3 separate regions of the Homo sapiens genome follow, and all the other regions are linked to region 3. Evidence: promoter capture Hi-C in human tissues and cell types (Jung and others, 2019). All regions are on one chromosome and are shown on one strand. The core of a region is centred on a gene start or on the middle of the fragment in contact, and the rest is flanking DNA. Distances in the headings are between cores, read along the strand shown.

What was found. Contacts are between HindIII fragments. The study calls those that stand out against the background at their distance.
Region 1: a fragment that was not itself captured here is called in contact with the fragment with the promoter of NEUROD6 in region 3 in 2 of the 25 tissues and cell types used here (hippocampus and mesendoderm cells).
Region 2: a contact is called between a fragment that was not itself captured here and the fragment with the promoter of NEUROD6 in region 3, in 4 of the 25 tissues and cell types used here (H1 embryonic stem cells, dorsolateral prefrontal cortex, liver and 1 more).

Annotation. Positions count from the first base shown.
Region 1 is chr7:31,137,317-31,140,951 of GRCh38, forward strand. It overlaps LOC107986781 (a long non-coding RNA gene), which reads left to right. Exons shown (of 3, transcript XR_001745159.1): 2 at 319-373. Among named protein-coding and RNA genes, the nearest start is that of ADCYAP1R1, 87 kb to the left of the region's middle. The HindIII fragment of the contact is 7,356 bases long and covers 1-3,635 here.
Region 2 is chr7:31,167,022-31,170,683 of GRCh38, forward strand. All of the region lies in intron 2 of LOC107986781 (a long non-coding RNA gene), which reads left to right. Among named protein-coding and RNA genes, the nearest start is that of ADCYAP1R1, 120 kb to the left of the region's middle. The HindIII fragment of the contact is 5,984 bases long and covers 1-3,662 here.
Region 3 is chr7:31,338,387-31,342,331 of GRCh38, forward strand. NEUROD6 (neuronal differentiation 6) reads right to left here and starts at 2,340. Exons shown (of 2, transcript NM_022728.4): 1 at 2,207-2,340; 2 at 1-903. The coding sequence starts at 882. The HindIII fragment of the contact is 16,561 bases long and covers 1-3,945 here.

The DNA of each region.
Region 1 (3,635 bases), core at 153-2,652, 200 kb before region 3:
AAAACAAAGCTTCCACGCTGTGGAAGGGCATCCGAGCAGGTTGCAGCCGCTGGCTTGGGTGGCCTGCGTTTATTCCCTTACTTGGCCCCACCCACATCCTGCTGACTGGGCCATTTTACAGAGAGCTGATTGGTCCATTTTACAGGGAGCTGATTGGTCCGTTTTGACAGAGTGCTGATTGGTGCATTTACAATCCTTTAGCTAGACAGAAAAGTTCTCCAAGTCCCCACCCTACCCAAAAGCCCAGCCAGGTTCACCTCTTGCCACAGTCCTCTGTAATAAATATCTTTTTTGTTTTTTAAATCCTTATTTTTTCAGGTAAGGACACAGAAGCCCAGGGAATATAAGTAACCTCCCAAAAATCGCACAGCAGGTAAGTAATAAGGTCGAGAGTTTAATCCAGAGCTGCAAGATGGCAGAGTCCAAGTTCACAGCCATAAGCTATACTGTTATTATGCTGTTTTGCCATTATTTCCAAAGAGTAACAAAAGGAAATGATCACCCATCTTTTATATATTTCAAGGCTACTATTCATGTCTTTTATATATGTCGAGGCTACTATTTCAGTAGCCTTGAAAATAGAACATAGATTTAATGTACTTTCTTAGAAAACTTTGTTCTATGTGTATGCATTTTTTGAATAGTATAATCCAATAATAGTTGGAAAGAACTTGAAAAAAATACACTCCACATACTTATGGTCATAAAAAATAAGTATTGAATTAAAAAGTTAGGAGTAAAATAATCGAACCCAAGAAAAGCAGAAAAAATAAAAGCAGAAATGTATATGTTAGAAACTAGAAACATTTATAGAAACTAAATAAATGCATGAGTTTGTTTGAAAAATCAGAGAAATATATAAACTATTAGGTCATCTAATCGTTTTTTAAAAGGAATACCTAAAACCATGTATTAGAAATGACAATGTAGAACTAATTGCAAAACCAGAGGAAAGTAAATGAACCAGCATAACATGATTTTTGCTTAATATTTACAAATATACCTATATGAAATTGGTTGACATTATAGGAAAATATGAAGTAACAAAATGTATCTTTTTTTTTTGAAATGGAGTCTTGCTCTGTCTCTCAGGCTGGAGTGCAGTGGCGCCATCTCGGCTCACTGTAACGTCCGCCTCCCGGGTTCACGCCATTCTCCTACCTCAACCTGTATCTGGGACTACAGGCGCCCGCCACCACGCCCGGCTAATTTTTTGTATTTTTAGTAGAGACCTGGTTTCACCGTGTTAGCCAGGATGGTCTCGATCTCCTGACCTCGTGATCTGCCCGCCTCGGCCTCCCAAAGTGCTGAGATTACAGACGTGAGCACCGCGCTTGGCCTTTTTTTTTTTTTTTTTTTGAGACAGAGTCTTGATCTGTCGCCCAGGCTGGAGTGCAGTGGTGTGATCTCGGCTCACTGCAGGCTCCGCCTCCCGGGTTCAAGCAATTCTCCTGTCTCAGCCTCCCGAGTAGCTAGCACTAACAGGCACTGGCCACCACGCCCAGCTAATCTTTGTCTTTTTAGTAGAGACGGGTTTCGCCTTGTTGGTCAGGCTGGTCTCGAACTTCTGACCTCAGGTGATCCACCCGCCTCAGTCTCCGAAAATGCTGGGATTACAGGCGTGAGCCACCGCACCCGGCCCAAAATGTATCTTAAAAGAGTTAAAACATATATAGGCCAAAGACAGTAGAAGAAATAGAGAAATTTGCCAAAGAGTTACTGCTAGCCTCCACAAAATGCACCAGGCCCAGATGATTTCATGAAACTATATGACCATAACTTTGCTGAACATGGAACTTTAATGCACTTTAAATATCTGCAGAATAGAATGGAAAAAAAGAAAAATCCTTCACATTCATCTGATGATGTGAAAAACATGCTAATATCAAGCCTGTCAAAGAGGAAATAGAAAATGATAGATAAATCTTTATTTTGAATATTGATGTAAAAATTGTGAAAAGAATTCAGTAGCAGATCGATGCAAATAATATTCCATGAATTGTGTTTATTCTGATAATGTTAGAATTGTTCAGTATTAGGAAATGTGATGGTTAATTGTGTGTATCAACTTGGCTGGGCTCAGTTTCTAGATAGTTGGTTAAACATTATTCTGTGTATTTCTATGAGAATGTTTTTGGATGAGATTAACATTTATTTTATTTTATTTTTTTCTTTAAAAATTTTTTATTTTTAATTGTGAGTATGCAGTAGGAGTACATATTTCTGGGGTACATAAGATATTTTGATACAGGCATGCAATGTGTAATAATTACATTAGGGTAAATGGGGTATCTATCCCCTCATGCATTTATCCTTTGCAATACAAAAAGTCCAATTATACTCTTAGTTATCTTAAAATGTATCATTAAATTATTATTGACTATAGTCACTCTATTGTGCTATCAAATACTAGGTCTTATTCATTCTTTCTACTTTTTTGCACCCACTAACCATCCCCACATTCCCCTCCCCCTCCTGCCCACCCCTCAGTCCAATTAGCCTTCCCAGCCTCTGGTAACCTTCCTTCTACTCTCTAGCTCCATGAGTTTCATTGTTTTATTTTTTAGCTCTCACAAATAATTGAGAACATGTGAAATTTGTCTTTCTGTGCCTGGCTTATTTCACTTAACATAATGATCTCCATTTCCATCCATATTGTTGCAAATGACAGGCTCTTATTCTTTTTCTATGGCTGAATAGTCCACAATTGTGTATATGTACCACATTTTCTTTATCTGTTTGTGTGCTGGTGGAACTTGGGTTGCTTCCAAATCTTGGCTATTGTGAATAGTGCTGCTGTAAACATAAGAGTGCAGATATCTCTTTGATATACTGATTTCCTTTTTTGGGGGTATATACCAAGTAGTGGATCATATGGTAGCTCTAGTTTTAGTTTTTTGAGGAATCTCCAAACTGCTCTCCATAGTGGTGGTCTTAATTTACATTCCCACCAACAGCGTACGAGGTTTTCTCCACATCCTCGCCAGCATTTGTATTGCCTGTCTTTGGATAAAAGCCATTTTAACTGAAGTGAGATGATACGTCATTGTAGTTTTCATTTGCATTTCTCTGATGATCAGTGATGTTGAACACGTTTTTATATGCCTGTTGCCCATTTGTATGTCTTCTCTGAGAAATGTCTACTCAAATATTTTGCCCATCTTTTAATTGGCTTATTAGATTTTTTTCCTATAGAGTTGTCTGAGCTCCTTTTATATTTTGGTTATTAATCTCTTGTCAGATGGGTAGTTTGCAAATATTTTAGCCCATTCTGTGTGTTGTCTATTCTCTTTATTGATTGTTTTCTTTGCTGTGCAGAGGGATTTTTTTTTTAACTTGATGAGTTCCCATTTGTCCATTTTTTTCTTTGGTAGCCTATGCTTGTCTGGTATTACTCAAGAAATCTTTGTCTACTCCAATGTCCTGGAAAGTTTCCCTCATGTTTTGTTGTAGTAGTTTCATAGTTTCAGGTTTTAGATTTAAGTCTTTAATCAACTTTGATTTGATTTTTGTATGTGGTGAGAGTTAGGGGTCTAGTCTGATTCTTCTGCATATGGATAGCCAGTTTTCCTAGCACCATTTATTGAAGAGACTGTCTTTACCCCAGTGTATGTTCTTTTTAAAAATGAGTTTGC
Region 2 (3,662 bases), core at 1,150-3,649, 170 kb before region 3:
GATTGGGTGAGTGCTTGGGTCCTGACTGTTTCCGTAACATGAGCTCTGGGAGAAGGAAGTTGGGTTTGGATAATCCTGTCCTAGTTTTTGAGATCAGCATTTCACCTCAATATAGTAGTTCCCCTTATCTGTGGGGGGTAAATTCCAAGGCTCCCAGTGGATTCCTGAATCTGCGGATTGTACTGAACCCTATATATACTATGTTTCTTTCCTTGCACACATATCTATGATAACATTTAATTTATAAATTAAGCAAAGTAAGAGATTAACAAAATAATAAAATAGAACAATTTTAGCAATATACTGTAATAAAAGTTATGTGACTGTGGTCTCTCTTTCAAAATATCTTACTGTACTGTACTGTACCATAGGAAACTGAAATAGAGGAAAGCCAAACTGTGGATAAGGGGGGACTACTGTACTTCCATGTATTTAAAAAAGAAATCAACTTTATTGAAGATTAATTTACATACTTCCTTATATTTTGGCAGGTTTCCTTTCCCTCCTTTTTTCCTGATTATCATTATACTATATATTTATTGTAAAAATGCAAATAATTCAGAAATATAAGACAGAAAGTATAAAGTTTTAAAATTCTTTAAAAATCACTATTTGTTAGGTACTTACTATGTCCCATGTACTTGACATGTATATCCTCATTGATTTCTTGCAACAACTCTGTGAATGGAAATTATCATTCCTATTTTGTAGGATTTTTTAGGATTCTTCTAATCATTGCATTGGGTTGCACTGAACACTTGCTTAGCTGACCTGCGAGCTTTCTCACTTTGACTCTGTCCATTGGGGTCTTTTCTCCACATGATCTTTATTAGAACCTTTTTCCCCTCTTTGACTTCAGTTGTATCTCTTTTTTAAAGACATGTATGGTGAGGTACTCACTAGCTAATAAGCTTTATAAGAGCAAGAAGTAATATTGAGGCTGGGTGCAGTGGCTCATGCCTGTAATCCCAGCACTTTGGGAGACTGAGGTAGGCAGATCACTTGAGGTCAGGAGTTTGAGACCAGCCTGGCCAACATGGTGAAACCCCGTCTCTACTAAAAATACAAAAATTAGCAGGACGCGGTGGTGGGTGCCTGTAATCCCACCTACTCGGGAGGCTGAGGCAGGAGAATCACTTGAACCCGGGAGGTGAAGGTTGCAGTGAGCTGAGAGTTGAGATCACACCACTGTACTCCAGCCTGGACGACAGAGTGAGACTCTGTCTAAAAAAAAATAAAAAAAGTAATATTTACTTACATAGCTGCTGTGCCTACATAAGATTTTAATGAGCACAAAATGTGACATGGAGTTGTTAAGTGGTAAATCTTTATTGAATGAATGAATTAATGATTTTAGCTGGCAGCCTCTCTTTATGCATTCTCATTTGGTCTTATTAAAAAATATATAATTCGTTTGAAATGGACAATGTACACTGTTCCCCTGCTGAATTCAAGTCATGAGTTTCATACTAGTGATTGTTTACATAATAATTTACTAAAAATAGTAAGAGTTTAGGATTTTTTTATGTGCTCTTTGAAGAAGCCAAGTGTGTTTTTTTTTATGTATTAATGTTGATTTGTCCATCCTACTCTGTTTTTACCATTTCATGCGGGCACTTTCTCTCTTGCACAGTTTAAAGCTTTCTTGCTCTCTTCAGGAGTATATTGCCAAAAATTCCTTATCAGTTCTCGTTAGACACCCTCTGCCTTATGCTGGTAGTCATCATGTTGGCATTGTAAAATGTAGCTTAAAAGTCCAATCCAGTTGTTCACTTATTCCAACCTCTTCTTTCTTCCACAGTCAGAACCTTCATGGGGGAAAAAGAGTTGAAAACACCCCCTGAATCTCATTTGCTTTCCTCTTCAGGTCCCCTGGGGCTGTACTCCAGGTTTCCCTGGCTTTGCATTTGTTCTCTATGAAATTATGTAAGCAGGAACAGCCCCAGGTGCTTGGAATGCTTGGTGGCTTCCTTCATGTGTGGGTTTACACATGGTGACAGAAGAGGGCAGCTGCTGGGGCAGCAATTTTTGTCTCTCCAGGGTCTCCACATGGACACCTTGTTTCTCCTTTGGATCTTCATTGGCCCTGCAATGAGTCAAACTTGCTAAACCCTGTGCTTCCCTCTGCCCCAGCCACAATCTCAGATGGAGCCTGACTTCAAATCTCTCACTGGTTGGTGGTTTGACCTTGAAGTTGGTAGACCTTGTCTGATCACCTGGGAAATGTAAGTTACTTCAGAGAGAGAATCAGTGAATTGTGAGTTGTGGGATCACAAGTCTAAAAAAAAAAAGCAGCTACAGGAGTTAATTATGCTAGTGTTTCTCCACCCATTTTGTTGATGAAAGAGCTTCCACATCATTGCCTGTCAGTCTAAGCATTGAGGTAAAAGACTCTCCCTTTGAAAATAGTCATTATATGAAAGTCTGGGAACCAGTATCAATATTTATTAGGGGGCACACACCCATCCTGTCCTGTTGTATCACAGATTTATAGCACAACCGTTTATCCTGGACTCCCTAAGCTCTTTCAAGGATTGTGTTAAAATTAAACCTGTCAGCTGTTCCTTGGGAGGATAACAAACTTTTAGGCATTCCTGTAGCTGACTTGCCTGCAAATGTATGGAAGTAGTTTCTTTAAAAAAATCTCTACTTAGCAAAACATTTCTTCTTTCATTTCTTTTATTTCCTCTTCCCCTGTGGTTCCTGGTGATTGATATTTGAATGTAGAGTTCCTCTGGGAAAGCCTGACTTATTCTTCTGCAACTACATAGGTTGAAAGAGGAGGAGATGTATGTTGCCCATTGTGTGAAGGGAAAAACAGAAAGATTAGCAATCTCTAGAAGCTGTACCAGGAGGCATAATAAATGTACAACTGTGAAAGAAAGAAAAAATAAGCTTTCTTTTAAAAATATTAATTTTGGAGAAAGATTACGTCAATCAGGAACATTAACAGAAGCTCAACATCCAATGCGAGGAACAAAAACTGATTTGATGATCCATGTGAACTGAAATTAGTGTCAGGGTGGATTTAGAAAGAACTAGCACGAGCCGGGCATGGTGGCTCATGCCTGTAATCCCAGCACTTTGGGAAGCCGAGACAGGCAGATCACCTGAGGTCAGGAGTTTGAGACCAGCCTGGCCAACATGGTGAAACCCTGTCTCTACTAAAAATGCAAAAATTAGCCAGGTGTGTCAGGCACCTGTAATCCCAGCTACACAGGAGGCTGAGGCAGGAGAATTGCTTGAACCCGGGAGGTAGAGGTTGCAGTGAGCCGAGATCGTGCCACTGCACTTCAGCCTGGGCAACAGAGTGAGACTTTGTCTCAAAAAGAAAGAAAGAAAGAAAGAAAGAACTATTATCGTGACTTCTTCCTGAAGGGAAATGCAAGCATTAGTCAACAGCCAAGTGTGTTGAGCTGTATACAAGTCATAATTCTCACTTTGGAATCTCCTAGAATTTTCTGGGAATAAGCATATAAGGTGTTCTTTGTTGAATGAGCTATTGAGTGAGTGAATGAATGGAGTGAACAGAAGAAGGTTGATGATACATCTCTAACCTGTCAGACTGCCCCTGGAATATTGTGCTCAACCAAAGGACCACTTAGATGGTGAACAGTCTGGGCACTATGTTCTGTGGGAATTTTGAAGAAATAGGAGAACAT
Region 3 (3,945 bases), core at 1,090-3,589:
CACTGCACAGTAATGCATGCCGTAATTGTAATTTTTACCATAGTCCAAGGTTTCTTCTTGCTTCAGGGAAAATATCCCATTATAGTTAATTGGGGGAGGACTTAAGGGACCTTCAAACTGAGGGCTGGCACACTCAGGGGAAGTACTTTCATAGAAGGATTCATACGCACTGCAATAATTGTAGGGTTTCATGGACTTGGAATTATCAAGAGTCCCATGCCCTGGGGGAGTGGTGAGCTCAGGGCTGTGGTAGGGTGGGTAGAAGGTAGAGTAGGGTGACCTTGTGTGGTGTGCAGCCTCCCCACCCTGACCCATCAGGAAACTCCTGGCGTTGAGCTGCAAGCAGCCTGCCACCAAGTTTGTAGTTGGCTGGGAAAGACCTTTGCATAAGTTTTGGACGAATGTGAGCAGATCTGGTCTCTTGCCGATTCTCAGAATTTCAGAAAGTGCCCAGATGTAGTTTTTGGCCAGTCGTAAAGTCTCTATTTTGGACAGTTTCTGGGTTTTAGAATAACAGGGGACCACTTTTCTTAAGTTGTCCAGAGCGTCGTTGAGGCCGTGCATCCTGTTCCTCTCGCGCGCGTTCGCTTCCTGTCTCCTGAACTTGACCCTTTCCAATCGCAGCTTTGTTGTCTTTTTTTTCCTAAGACCCCTCCTTCTAGGCAACCCATTTTCATCTTCCTCTTCCCTGTCTTCCTCCTCTTCTTCTTTCTCGGTTTCTTCTCCAGGGGCCCTTTTGATGCTCTTTCCTCGAAGGACAATCTGTTTGGAAAAGCTTTCTGGCTTCTTAATTTGCTTCTGGTCCTCGCATTCTCTAGAAAACTTTCTGCACATCTGGGATTCTGGCATTACAACAGACTCATCAAACGGTAGTGTTAACATGGTTCTCTAATCTTAAATTACCTGAAAAAATGCCAGCACAATATTTAAAGAGTTTTCATTTTTAAAGTTTATACACTTAAAACATATTTAATTATTTAATCATAAGATTACAAAAACACGTGAAAAAGACTGATTCTGGGCCTGATTTTTTAACATTAAATATAATTTTGAGTTTGTGAAGATAAGTAATTATGAAGACATTGATGCATTCAATAGGATTATTTATATGAGCAAATTATCAAAAGAAAATAAAAATGAAACATATAATTATTGTGATATCATTACCATCTACATTTCTCTTTGCCTTTAAACTGGATTTTAATACCCCCAAAAAAGATTGTGGAATTCAAGCAAATGCAAAACATGAAATTGCAATGCAGAATTTCATTAATTCCAATTCCCCTGAGCACAAAATGAGAAGATAAACCAGTTTTTAAAATGGACTATCTCTCCATTAGCTGACAAATTTGTGTTCTTTTTTTAAAACAAACAAACAAACAAACAAAACCTTAACTTTATTTGCTGTATCACACAACTGTGAATTTAGATAAGTGGGTGTGGGAATATACAAATTTAAAGAAAAGATTATAATCAGAGTCAATTTTTCAACTGATTTTTTCTGATCAGTAAAGAATTATGTAAAAGGGCACTATTTTCCCAGGCTTCAAAAAGAAAAGGGGATTAGGCTAATTTGGAATAAACTCTATAAATAAATTTAAAACATAAAAATCACTAGCAATTTCTTTTAATTAAAAAAAATAGAGACTGATTTTATTTACATTTAAATTTTTTCCAAATAGAATTGTCTGTTTACTGCTGTTCAAATCATCCTGGACAAAAACCACTCTCGTAGTGTTTTTGTTCTACGAGCCATAGAAGTCTCCCTCTAGCTAATATCTGACAGGAACGGTCCAAGGATTCTGACTGCAATTGTGCACGTGTGTTCAGAATCCCAAATGAAAGGGGAAAATAATTTGTGTTTCAAATGCATTTTGGTTTTTGTCTGGTGAAGCAGCAAGTATTTTCATCTAAAGTCTTCAAACAAATAGGCACATTAAAGCAGAGACTTTTCAATTTAACAATCTCCAGCCCCCTCAACACACACATATACACACGAACACATACACAAACTCTTAGTAATGTCCACATACTTGCAGTGTTACATAATAGCAGTGAAAGTATGTGATAATTACATCATAAGAATGAAATATGATAAGTTATAGATGGCAAAGAGCATATAAATACTATAAGACAGTGACACTGTATCTTTAAATACTTGCATGCAAAGCCAGCATCAATTGAAGTATATCTTTATTTATATTACCTTAGGTTTTAATTTCATTCAATAATCAGTTTTCATTTTGGGTCTTCCAAATCTTTTCAGGCTGAGTGTCGCATCGTCTCCTGGAGTCTCTAGATCTGTGTATATCTGCACTATCTCATTGATCTCTAAAAAGTGACATTGATGCCAACTGCCAGAGCTGGTACCCATGCCATCTGCTAGTGACGTCACAGGGCAGAGAGAGCCATGTGATCCTCTCTCTTGGGACCTTCATTCTGCACTGATCATCTGGCATCCCTGTAAGTGGGTACCAGCCTTCATGCATCAACACAGAAGGTTAGACTGATAGGAAAAAAATCTGCACCAGCATTTCACGTACAGTAGGTGCATTTCTCCTCGAACTGCTTCGGTTTCACTGGCAATCTGTAGAAATAGCTGTGTTAGTGTTCAGTTTCGCCCTGCCAAAGGTGCAAGTATTAGGTGATCGTTAATATTCCATTCATTTACAAGGTGGGCTTTTGTGTGAGCAAGAGGTTTTTTTTGTTGTTGATGATGTTGTTTTGTAAAGATCACCATCCCATTTGTGCACCTGGGTACCCAGGGAAAGAAAGCCGTGAAAAGGAGCTGGAAACTGGTCTTAAGACGTTTAACCAAACTAAGATTTGTGTAAGTGAACAGGGGTCAAAAAAGGTCTCCTTTGCTTGTTTTGTTTCACAGCGTGTAACTTATGAGTGTGTGTCTCTGTGTTCTCTTATTAACATGTAAGACTTCTGTGCTTCTTAGGCATTTGGAATAAAAGAACAGCTTCTCCATCTGGGGTCTGTGAAAGACATCCTCAAATACTCCCCTTCCTACACTTGCTGGTATCTTTCACCAACTTTTGCAGAGACACTGCAAGTCCGTTGTTAAGGATTTCAAACTACATACTTTGTCCTCTGCAGAAAGTCACTAACTTCACTCTTTTATTGTCCCTTATCTCTTCCCAGCGTTAACTTGCTTGTTCCCTCTCATTTCATTTCAGACACAATAAACATAAAAATTATCACTTAGGTGTTTGTCTTCCTCTCCCTGACATTCTGCTGAGTATTTTAATCAAAGATTAGCTTTCCTGTTTTTGTTTTTTTTTCTTTTTTTTTGACTTTCAGATTTTTTTCTTTCTCTTAAAAATCTTGTCCTCACATTTTTCTCTAGACCAACATCAATTTAAATATCTTCTTGTTCTTGTATCAGTGTCCAGTTGTTTTTCCCTGTCAGGTGTATTTCAGATTTATCTTTTTTCCCCGCTCCACACTTTTGGTTTCTTCTTAACAAAAGCAGGGTGGAAACAGTTAAGCAAAGCTGGCAAAGCCTTATAGATAATACGAACTGTGGAGGCAGAGACAAACTCCACCTTCCTCCTGTTTTCTCTTCTCCCGTGCCCCCACCCCTATAAAGGACATTTGATTTCAGGATTGCCTGCCAGTAAAGTAAAAAGTGCACTTAAAAAAAATAAGTAAAAGTTTTAAAATAAACAAATAAACGCAACCTTTGTTGTTTGGCAACTGAGTAATCTCTTTCTATAAAGTGAGAGAGTATGCTTTTGGTATTAAAGTAATCCCTGCAGAGCTGTAACTGTTGAATCTGTGTTAGCATTCCCCTTATAAATCCCAGTTTTGCAAGGTTTAGAATTCTGCTGCTTTAATGCACTTTGGATCCAAATTGGCACCAAGGGCCTCACACTAAATTCAATTTTGCTTCTGTCATACCCCACTCATTTCCACCTTCTTCAAAAAGTTGCTTGA